Regions from separate parts of the Homo sapiens genome. Here regions 1, 2 and 3 are each linked to region 4. The links are contacts of gene promoters, found by promoter capture Hi-C in human tissues and cell types (Jung and others, 2019). All regions are on one chromosome and are shown on one strand. The core of a region is centred on a gene start or on the middle of the fragment in contact, and the rest is flanking DNA. Distances in the headings are between cores, read along the strand shown.

Region 1 (2,872 bases), core at 308-2,807, 170 kb after region 4:
TGCCCCCCTGGTTCAAGTGATTCTCCTGCCTCAGCCTCCCGAGTAGTTGGGATTACAAGCACCTGCCACCCCATCTCTTAGTAGAGATGGGGTTTCACTATGTTGGCCAGGCTGGTCTCAAACTCCTGACCTCATGATCCGCCCACCTCGGCCTCCCAAAGTGCTGGGATTACAGGCGTGAGCCACTGTGCCCGACTGCATCTTGTATTCTTAAGCCTGTAGAGCATCTCAGTCTTCAGGCAGCCAAGGACATTTATTAGAATTGGAGCCTCTGGCTGCCTTGGAAGAGGATGTTTTCAACACTTTTAGCCTGTTGTAATACTTGGGGGCTACTGGTTGATTGTGCTTTAAAGGATGTTGATATCAAATATGGTCTGGCTATATTTATGCCAAGTTGCTGACATGTTGTATAATATTTATTGTTCCTAATGCATGATAGGATCAAAATGCTGTACACAAACAGGTAAAGATGGTTTTGCAGCTTTGGGTTTTCAATTTATTTTCTAGAACATGTCTCACTTGCTTTCCTACATAAAGACACATGATTGCTTTTGAGCTTAACTAAATTTAGTGTGGTATCTAAGTTGTCTGTGTGTTATTCTGGTGAACAAAGGCACTTGATCAAAATGATCTCTTCAAAGTTGGAATGCCTTCATTAAAATGTTCAAATGGTAACCGTCCACCTGAAGGATGCCATGAAAATATTAGAAATCATTGTTTTTTAAGCATTGATGTTGATAATTGTTAGACAATGTCTGAAACTTTTGAAATCACAACCATCTAAGGCAGTATAGGAAACAGAAATAGCAGGGATGTTGAAACACTAAAATAGTAAGTTTTGTAAGACAAAAGTGACCTTGCGTTCAAAATAAGATTTCTAGGAATTTATTCTGTTGATTTTAGATTGAATTTGTAGTAAGTAAACAATTAGCTGACTATATAAGGCTAAGGAGTTACTTATCTATGAAACCAAAAATGTGAACTAGTTTATCTGTAGGGTCCATTTTGTCTCTAAAATGCCAAAAATCAATCTAATATATTTCCCTGGATTGAATTCCTCAAGGGTCAAGGTGCATGCACCTTTGATATAGTGCTGAATGAAGCATTACTAATAAACATTAAACTGATTTGGATTTAAATACCTCTTACACAGCTCAAATGCAGGCTTGAAAAGTAATGTCCCCATGGCGGTAAAAGCATCAGTATGAGTGTACGTGTGGAAAGATTTGTTGTAGGAAGATCAGTCAGCCCTATTTCATGATGACTTCAATGTTGTCGGTGCAGCAGTGGAGTCATGGCCATGACAGCATCATCAGAGTGAACTTTAATTAAAAACAAGTGGAGAAATCAACAGCTAGGATTTGCCCGGGAAATACCTAAATGACATACAGCCCGGAAGAGGATTTCGAGGCACCATTTTATTGCATTCTAGTGGGAGAGAACAGTTCTCATTATAAAAATTCTAAGAAAAGTTGGAAAAATAATGAGCACCATAAATTAGATTTGAACTAGGCATGCCTTTTAGCCTCAACACATCCCATTTTGTATCCCCTTAAACTGTCAGAGAACAGGCAGGTATGACTCATTCCTCTAACTTGGGTAAGCAGAAATTAAAATAATCCTATTTAAGAAATAAATAGCAAAAAGGAAACTATAAATAAATGGTCAAATAGAATTGCTTAGTTGTTGAGAGAACTATGTAACTCAGCTAAGTGACAACAAAGGGAAAAAACCTAATTAAGTTGCTGAAGAGGGGGAAAATATTTTTTCAGTGGCATAAATCCCAGAGCAAAAACAAAAACAGAAAAAATGAAAAGATGTATGCTTTTAAATAGATGGAAAAAATCCTTGTTTTCTAAAATGTGACCTTAAAGACCCTTGGTAGAAATTCTAATAGCTACCATTCAATTTCTTTCTATAACACCTTTGATACAGAATCACTCTTTATCATTTCATAGTTCCAAAAATGTATTAAAGGCACAATTTTCTCTCTCTCTCTCTCTCTCTATATATATATATACACATATATATATACATATATATACACATATACACACACACACATATATATATATATATATTTTTTTTTTTTTTTTTTTTTTTCTGAGACGGAGTCTCACTCTGTTGCCAGGCTGGAGTGCAGTGGTGCAATCTCGGCTCACTGCAACCTCCACCTCCCGGATTCCAGCGATTCTCCTGCCTCAGCCTCCTAAGTAGCTGGTATTACAGGCGCCTGCCACCACGCCTAGCTAATTTTTGTATTTTTAGTAGAGACAGGGTTTCACCAAGTTGGCCAGGATGGTCTCAATCTCTTGACCTTGTGATCTGCCTGCCTCGGCCTCCCAAAGTGCTGGGATTACAGGTGTGAGCCACCAAATACTATATATTTTAAACAAACAAATACTTTTAAGTGTTATGCTTACTACCGACTGCTGCTTACCAGTGTGGTGCATGTTAGCTACTCTGAATGTTGGTTTTTTATCTGTAAAATGATAGTAAAGGCTGGGTGCAGTGGCTCACACCTGTAATCCCAGCACTTTGGGAGGCGGGTGGATCATTTGAGGTCAGGAGTTGGAGACCAGCCTGACCAATATAGTGAAACCCCATCTCTACTAAAATACAAAAATTAGCCAGGCCTGGTGGCAGGTGCCTGTAATCTCAGCTACTTGAGAGGCTGAGGCAGGACAATCACTTGAACCCTGGAGGCAGAGGTTGTAGTGAGCTGAGATCACACCACTCCACTCCAGCCTGGGCAACAGAGCAGGACTCCCTCTCAAAAAATAAATACATACATACATACATACGTACATAAATAAATAAAATGGGAGTAAAAACCTTTACCTCTAGAGTTCCTGGGAGTATAAATTACATG
Region 2 (2,963 bases), core at 51-2,550, 190 kb before region 4:
AGGTACATTTTTGTTTTTTATGCACAGTTTTATATAAACCACATTGTAGTAAAAGTTTCATTCTGTTTTTCTTCATTCAGCAATATATTTTTAAAAGTCTAATCATGTTGCTGAGTATCTATCTAGACTATTGCTTCTAATGATGCCTAATTATCCATCCATTTTATCCACTCATTTCACAGAAATGGACATGCACATTGCCCCCAACTCACCAACACTAGTAACGATGCTGCAGCAACATCCTCATACGTCTTGCCTTGTGTGTGAGAATTCCTCTGGATTCCTATACTTAGCAGTGGAAATACTGAGTCATAAGTAACATACGTATCAGAGTAAAACCAGGAAAACAGAAGCCACTCTAAGTGTGTAAAACTAAGATTTTAATGCAGGGAATAGTTACAGAGGTGATGAAAGAGCTGAGAGCCAAACAGGGGACATAGGTAATCTAGAGACTGGCAATAATAGGAAACCCCTACCACACCTAAACTGCACGAATTGCTTGGAACCAAGAGTTTGAGTCATGTGACAAAAGCCGGAATCATAGCACCTGGTGGGAGCTCCAAGAGAAGGAAGAAATATAGATGCCTCTATAAATAGGAGAGAGATGGAGAGAGAAAAATAGCCTGACTGTTCCCTTCCTCCATCCCCAATCTCCTATTAGTGCTTTCCACTAGCCGAACCCAGCCCCCAGTGCAGCTTGCTGACGCCAGGGCAGAGCAGGCAGGGGCAGTGAAGAACAAATCAGCCAGCAGATACCATATACTTGGTTTGACTAAGTCCTTTCAGATTGTTCTCCTAATAACTGTTCTAGCTACACTCCCACCAGCAATGTATCCCTACATCCCATCTACTCTTCATGGCCCACTGTTCAACAAAGAGTGGAGGTACAGATCTCCACTATCTTCCTTTAAGTGTGTCTAGCCTATTGCAGATGGCTCAGGCATCTCCTCAAATCTAGCAGCCTGACCGAACTAAAGGACCCATCCATCCACTTAACCATAACCTCCTGAGGGCAGGAACCTTGTCAATTTTATCTGTAATCCCCTATCTGCCATCATGCTCAATGCTACTGACCAAGTGAGAAATGCTCCTGTTGACTATTGGTGTCATGCCTTTACCCCCATTGTTATTTGGTTTGCAGGTGTAGTCTACACTGAGGGCAGTTTTCAAGAAGCCACTTAAAACACTATGCAGGAAAATCTCTAGAGAGATTCTGTGGGTGAGGGAGAAGGTTGACAGTAAGCTGGTAAGCAAGGTTTAGGACTATAATGGTTGTCAAAACACTGTGTTGGTTGGTAAATAGCCACTGCTCTGAGCAATTCTGAGTGACTGCTGTGCTCTGGTGGCTCCAGCCACTCTCTACAAGATCAGCAACTAAAGGAAGGTATTGCCATTATGATTAGGGGACTCTAGGACTCCGTTGTTGCAATCTGGCTGGCCATCTTCCTGATTGGTTAGTGTATATGCTTTACTGGTTGTTAAATATTTTAAATATCCTTCCCCTGGATGAGTACCACAAAATAAGGAATGTTTAGGGGAAAGTCTGCAGACTTTAGGGTGCCCTAGGGCTCCCAGGAAGCTTGTTTCTTTATGTGATAATGGGGTAGAGATTTCTCTAGGATTATTTTCCTGATGGAAAATGCTGCATTTTTTGCTTTTCTCTTATTGAATAACTTACATAGTAAAATGCACAAATCTGATGTGTATAGCTCATTAAAATTTTACATATGTACTAACATATCCACCAACTAGATCAAGATGTAGAAGATTTGCATCTTCCTAGCAGACTCCCTCATGCCTTCTCTTTGTCAGTTACCCGCCAAGTAACCACAATTCTGACATTTATCATTATAAATTAATTTTGCCTGTTTTAAAACTTCATGTTAATAGGAACACAGTGTATACTCTTGACGTCTGGCTTCTTTTGCTCAACATTAAAAACATACTTCTTTTGGGATTTATTTGACTATCTTTCCAATTTGTTAAGTTGGATTCTTAGCTCATTAATTTTCAAATTTCCTTCTTTTTTTGGTATTTTTTACAACTTTAAAAAATTGTGTCAAAATATATGTAACATGAAATTTGTAACTTTAACCATTCTTTTAAAGTTTATAATTTGGTGGCATTAATTACATTTACAATATTATGCAATCATTATCACTATTTCAAAATTTTTTCATCATCCTCCAAAAAAACCTCTGTATCCATTATGCACTAACTCCTCATTTCTTCCTTCTCCCAGTCCCTAAAAATCTCTAATTTACTTTCTGTCTCATGAGTTTGCCTATTCTAGATATTTCATATAATGGAGTTATACACTATATGTCCTTTTGCATTTGACTTCTTTCACTTAGCATGTTTTCAGGGTTAATCCATGTTATAACTTATCAAAATTTCATTCTTTTTATGAATAATTTTCCATGTATGTATATGCCACATTTTGTTTATTAATTCATCTGTTGGTGGACACTTGGGTTCTTATCACTTTTTGGCTATTGTGAATAATGCTGCCATAAACATTGATGTACAAATATCTGAGTTCCTGTTGTTAATTCTTTTAGGTATATACCTAAGAGTGGAATTGATGTGTCATATGGTAAACCTTTGCTTAGCTTTTTGAGGACTGCCAAACTATTTTCCACAGCAATTGCAAGATATTATATTCCCACCAGCAATGCATGAGTGTCCTAATTTCTCCACATCCTCACCAACACTTGTTATTTTCTATTCGTTTGTTTTTATTATTATAACCATCCTAATTGGTGTGAAGTAGTATCTCATTGTGGTTTTGATTTGCATTTCCTTAATGACTAATGATGTTGAACATCTTTTGATGTGATTTTTGGCCATTTGTATATCTTCTTTAGGGAAATATCTATTCAAATATTTTGTCTATTTTTTAATTGGGTTGTTTGTCTTTTTGTCGTTGAGTGGTGGGAGTTTTTAAATATATTACGGATATT
Region 3 (2,797 bases), core at 141-2,640, 150 kb after region 4:
CTTTGAAGGGATGATTGAGTTCAATGCCTTTAATTGCTACCTTCTGGCCAGTAACATTCTTGTGAAGAAATACCTTGGTTTCCCCAAAGAATTAAAGAATGTGGAAAGAGAGAAAAAAGAACAGGGGGATATGATTACTTTAGGCCAGTAGAAAAGAAGCAAAATTAAATTGAAAAAATGTGTTGATTCTCATCTGTAATTCCAGTCATTTTCATTTGTGTGCCTTTCGATTGCTGTATCATAAGTGGTTTATGTCCTACAGTTATTATACTGGACAGGCATTGTATAATAATACTTTGGACTTAACTGACATCTTTTATGATACTAAGAAGCCTGGAGCCATTATCTCATCAAAATTGTTAAAGTTACGGTGTCATCAGCCTGGGATAAAAAATGATTGCCTGAGTGTAAAATGAGCATTGGGCTCAGCTGCTGTGTGTCTGCTTCCCTTACAGCATTTTCAAGGATCTGACTCTTTCAGACATACTTGGAGTTCAACAAATACAATTTCCCAGGAAATTAAATGAAAATGGGCTATAAGGGAGAAACTAAGCTTACTGAGTTTCTATCTAGGCTCACTGCCCAGTTTTCTTTCAACCTGAAACCTATATGTGGGAATTTGCAGAGTTGGGCTAAACTAATCGTGAACCCCACGAAGTTCATTTACTGTCTAACACATCATCATCATCTTGGACCTGGTCTCTACCCTCACCATTGAGATTTATTCTACAATCACTCTTCCTTCTAAAGATGCAGTGTGACTTCCAAAAGTGAGATGTACAGGACACCTGTTCTACCTGAATCTTTTGCATATTTTGTAAAGTTTATTTATTAAGCACCTAATAAATGCCAGCCATTGCTCTAGGTGTTTGGAACTCAGCCATGATAAAAATCAAAAACCTCTGTCTCATGGAGCTGACATTCTTGTGAGCAGAAGCAATAAATAACAAACACAATACATATGTGAATGAAACAGTGTGTTAGAAGTTGGTGAGTGCTCTTAGAAAACCAGACCAAGAGTTCAAGAGGCTGTTTCTAGCTCCCCCATTCATAAATTTCCTAAGTTCCTCCTGGGAGTTTAAATGGCTATGCCCTACAGGCATTTAAACCTACCTTACACAGAAAATCAATCTACCTTACAACACCTAGAGAATAGTTTAACTGTTATGGACAGACCCAGAAATTAAAAAAAAAAAATGAGCAAAGAAACCACAGTCTTCATTATTTTGTGCAGCTTTCCCACCATAGACCTTCATCTCTAATCCCAAACAAGCACCTCACAAGGCCATGTGCAAATCATTAAGGAAAAAGACCAGCGGAAATCTGGTGTTCAGAAATCAAGGCTATTCATCTTGGTCTGCAGTTCATCAACAGAGTAACATAAAACTCTCCTGCCCTGGGCTTATAAAATGGCAATTAGGAGAAAACAGGATGTGCTTGAGTAGATGAGCTACTAGCTTTGAGAGAAAAAAATGAAAGCACCATATTCAAACACTCATCTAGTTTATTCCTTTTTATCCTCTCTTCACCACAAATATTAGGACTAGGAAGACACTGAGTGATGTTCTAGACCAGAGGCCTCCTCCAAGGATGAGGAACAGAGCCTTAGACAATAAGTAACGTGTTCAAGGTCACGTGCTAATCAGTGGCAGAGCCAGAAGGGAAAGCAATGTCCCCTCCCTTCTGGTCCAGTGTGCAGCGGGGTCCACAGCACTGCTTCCAGATTAGATCATCATTACTTCTTCCAACAAGAATGGCCTAACCCTCTGCAAGTGATTGCCAAAGAATCTGGACAGGTAGAAAGTGAGAAGTCAAGATGTTTGTGAGAGCATTCCACATGAGGAACAGATGCGTTTGTTTTTGATCACAGCTGAGTCTGAATGCTCTCTAGAACTCAGATGTAGAGAAAGGAGGAAATACAAGATGGGGCTGTGGGCAGGTCTTACCTGGGCTGGGGGAGCAGCGTGGTGTGGATGGTCTTCCTTCTAAATGAGGGGAGCTGGTGCACATTCCAGTGTAAAGAACATCCTATGCACCAGAGTTGTCTGCACTGACTTAGGACGGCATCATCTCCAGACTTGAGGACCCCTGAGCTCACCATTCTTCTGTCCATGAGTGGCCACCCAACCACCCAAGGGTGAAAGGTCGTGCTCTATGCTCTCACCTCAGGTCATGATGAAGGTAGGAAGAGCGACCATCCAGCCCATACCACCACAACTGGGTAACATTAGAGCTCTTCCTGTAGACCAAGCACTATGCTAAGTGCTTTTTCATAGCATCACCTTCAGTCCTCACATCAGATAGGTACCCATTTCAGAGGAGAGAAAACTGACGCTTGGAAAAGCTGAATAATTTGCCTGCAATCACAAAGCTGGTGAATGCAAAGCCTTTATCTCAGAGGGTGGTGGTTCAGAACATGGGCTCTGTGGTCAGATTGCTTAGGTGTGCATTCCAGATCTGCTGCTTGCTGGCTGTAAAATGTTCAACAAGTTACTTCTCGAAGCCTCAGTTTCCACATCTGTAAAGTTGGAGTAATAATTATAATATTTACCTTATAGAATTGTGGTGATGATTAGAGAATGTAACATGGTAACTACCGACACATAGTAACTACTAACTATGGGTCAACTGTAGGTTGGAACCACATGAAATTTCTATTGTAGTGGACCAAAAATTATCAAATATTGGCAATTTCATATGGTTCAATCTAGTATTACTAAAAGGCATCCATTCTTTGTAAATATCAATGCTTTCCTTATTCATCTCATAATTTGTGAAAGGACAGGTTATTTAATTG
Region 4 (2,852 bases), core at 41-2,540:
CAAAATGTATTAGGAGTAACATAATAAGAGCCTCATAAATTAATTTTTTCAGAAAGAAAGCTGTTCATTTACCTAGGACTTTTATTTAAAATACATATGTTCTTTGAAATGAAAGAAAAGCTAATGTTTCTCCATTTATTCTAACTTACAAATTAAGCTGTAAAAGAAAACCACAATAGAAATTGCGTAAATTACCCTTAAGAATCAGCCAATTTTTACCACATACTTTCATTTGGTACACCTTAGGTTTCCTTATGTTTCCATTCACATACTACCATTACATAAGGTTTTACTTTTTTTTTTTTTTTTTTGTCTTTGAGCCCTTCAAGTGAAGTTACCATTGAAAATCAAACAATACCTGTCCAGTGTTGTAAATTAAATATCGTGTAGTTTGATATCATATACCTGCCTTTCCATATCAGCCTTTCATTAATTATAAGTACAAACACCAAAATAATTGTTATCAAGCCCCACAGTAGTTTTTAACTTCAGTTTTCAACTTAATTCTCATTATCCCATACTTTTAAACAGAAAAAAGTTTTAGTACATATATTACCTGGAAGTAATTCTAATCTGTTCCAATAACTAAATAGCTGAGGCTTCTGGGTTAGATATGGTTATCTTCTACTGTTCAAATTTTTAATACAAAGCATGAATGTTAAATTTGTATATAACATTATTACAAAATGACACTGGTAACATGAAATCAGAACAACATTCTTTCCCGAGTACCTAGTACTTACCCACAAGGCATTGTAGATTTCTTTTCATTTAAAGAGTGGATAACAATCTTGGAGTAGATAACAATGAAAACCTAGAAAAAAAAACCCACCTCCTGTTTTTATTGAGTCAAACAAGCAGAACTTTGATTGGAAAGTCCCATTTCATATATTACACTGGTAGTATTTTCTTCTAACGAAAAAAAAAAAGCCCTTGTGCCACCACCTTGACATGTACTTAAACGTTTACCCAAATCACTTAGGCATTGCTTCTCAAACTTGGCTGCATAGCAGAATTGCCTGGAGGGTTTTTAAAAACACAAATGCCTATGTCTCACTCCCTGAAATTCTCCTTTAATTGGTACGAGGCGGGGCTATTCTAGGAACTATTTTCTATCCCTTGGCAATTAGCCATCTGTATAGTATTTTTAACTTCCTACGTGTTATTAACTGTAAGACTGTTTGAATTGTCAGGTCTTTGTGGTGAGCTGAATTCTGCATGGCAGTGCTTACTGTGCAGAAAGGTTGCAATGCCTCACTTTGCCTTAATCCATGTTCCTCTAACTTCCTTACTCTTTCTCTCAAGAGGAGGCAAGTGGCTGTGGCGGCCGCAGCAGTGGCTGATCATCACTGAAAATACCAAAGAAAAGAACTGAGCTGCCTCCTTCATATTTTTTCCATTGAGGATTAATTTACCGTGCTTTTTCATTTTCTCTACATCCTGCAAAAGTTTTTTTCTCTCCTAAGAAACAAACTATGAACTGATTGTTGAAAAAAAGAAGTAAAAAGTTTTAGCACAGCTTCTCTGTCTCTTCGGGACAAGTTAGAAAATTCTGAAGTGAGCCGAAGCATAGTAAGTGCTTTCTTTCTTTTTAAGCTACTTCTGGGGAGGGAGGAGGCTATTGTAATGGTAAATTTCACTCCGAGAGGAAGAAAGGGTTGATAATCAATCAAAAATGAGGTATTCCTTTGAGTATTTGTGATTTTCTTACTATATTGTAAGATGCTTTTAATTTTCTCTGTAAAATAGGCAGAAATGGTTTTAGTGTGTGTATGTGTGAAATAAAAGCTCAGAAAAGCAATCTTCAGAGCGCCACTGAAGGAAGTTTTGACGAACGGAGTAGAGATGTATACCACTTGGGGGCTTCAGTGAGAACCCAGAATTCCTGGAGGAGGATTTACATTCAGAAATGTTGAAGTGAAAATTCCTTCTGGTTCAGCATCTTGGAGTTCAGCTTGGAAGAACATTTTACGTATGGAAGAATTTGCTTCTCCAAACCTCTCTTTTGGCCATTGTGTGTCCTGAAGGATGGGACAACTTGTGCTGTAGAAGCACTGCTTGCCTGAGTTTGCTTCAGGCATTTTAAATTTAACTTGAGGGATCATGTGTTTGGCATGATGAGGACCACTGAAGACTTCCACAAGCCTAGTGCCACATTAAACTCTAACACGGCCACCAAGGGAAGGTACATTTATCTGGAGGCATTCCTGGAGGGAGGAGCTCCCTGGGGTTTTACTCTAAAGGGTGGCCTGGAGCACGGAGAACCATTAATCATCTCTAAGGTATGTTTCTTTTTCCAATATTGCCTTTATTCAAATTGTTTTTTTCAACTTGTCAGATTTGTCAAAAATGCAAAATAATGAGAACTGCCTTAATATAACTTAATTTGCTGTTTCATGCCTTTCTGATTATCTAGAAATATTTTGGATAGCCTGGGATTTGAAAGAAAAATGTGTCTAGCTCATTTATTCTATGAAATCCGAAGAAAAATATGCCTGTTTGATGGATAATCTTCTCTTTTTGTGAATGAAATCGCATACAATCAGTTACCACATGAGCTTTTCAGTTATAAATCAGATTAAAGATTAATAACATGGTTAAGATGGTGGCATGGTATATATTTGTGCATTCAAAAATATCTGCTTTTTCTCTCTTCAACTGAAAATAGCATCTAAAAATATTTTAAGTTTGCTTATAATTCTGGATAATAGATTGCATAAATACCATGTGTTGCTTTTTTTCCCCACACTCAGAAAGGAGAATTAAATCAGCTTTCAGCATAACTCAAGATCAAAACATTTCTGCCTCTCCTATTTATCTGTATATTTGAATCCCTTTTTAAACCTTAGTCA

Evidence for each region. Contacts are between HindIII fragments. The study calls those that stand out against the background at their distance.
Region 1: a fragment that was not itself captured here is called in contact with the fragment with the promoter of SHROOM3 in region 4 in 1 of the 25 tissues and cell types used here (mesendoderm cells).
Region 2: a fragment that was not itself captured here is called in contact with the fragment with the promoter of SHROOM3 in region 4 in 2 of the 25 tissues and cell types used here (hippocampus and neural progenitor cells).
Region 3: a fragment that was not itself captured here is called in contact with the fragment with the promoter of SHROOM3 in region 4 in 2 of the 25 tissues and cell types used here (adrenal gland and neural progenitor cells).

Annotation. Positions count from the first base shown.
Region 1 is chr4:76,603,928-76,606,799 of GRCh38, forward strand. The region is part of intron 2 of SHROOM3 (shroom family member 3); the gene reads left to right. Among named protein-coding and RNA genes, the nearest start is that of MIR548AH, 30 kb to the left of the region's middle. The HindIII fragment of the contact is 5,373 bases long and covers 1-2,872 here.
Region 2 is chr4:76,244,883-76,247,845 of GRCh38, forward strand. It overlaps LOC105377286 (a long non-coding RNA gene), which reads right to left. Exons shown (of 3, transcript XR_938897.4): 2 at 213-288. It also overlaps a transcript of FAM47E not described here. Among named protein-coding and RNA genes, the nearest start is that of FAM47E, 5.4 kb to the right of the region's middle. The HindIII fragment of the contact is 9,167 bases long and covers 1-2,963 here.
Region 3 is chr4:76,581,191-76,583,987 of GRCh38, forward strand. The region is part of intron 2 of SHROOM3 (shroom family member 3); the gene reads left to right. Among named protein-coding and RNA genes, the nearest start is that of MIR548AH, 7.0 kb to the left of the region's middle. The HindIII fragment of the contact is 9,198 bases long and covers 1-2,797 here.
Region 4 is chr4:76,433,939-76,436,790 of GRCh38, forward strand. SHROOM3 (shroom family member 3) reads left to right here and starts at 1,291. Exons shown (of 11, transcript NM_020859.4): 1 at 1,291-2,282. The coding sequence starts at 2,115. The HindIII fragment of the contact is 12,167 bases long and covers 1-2,852 here.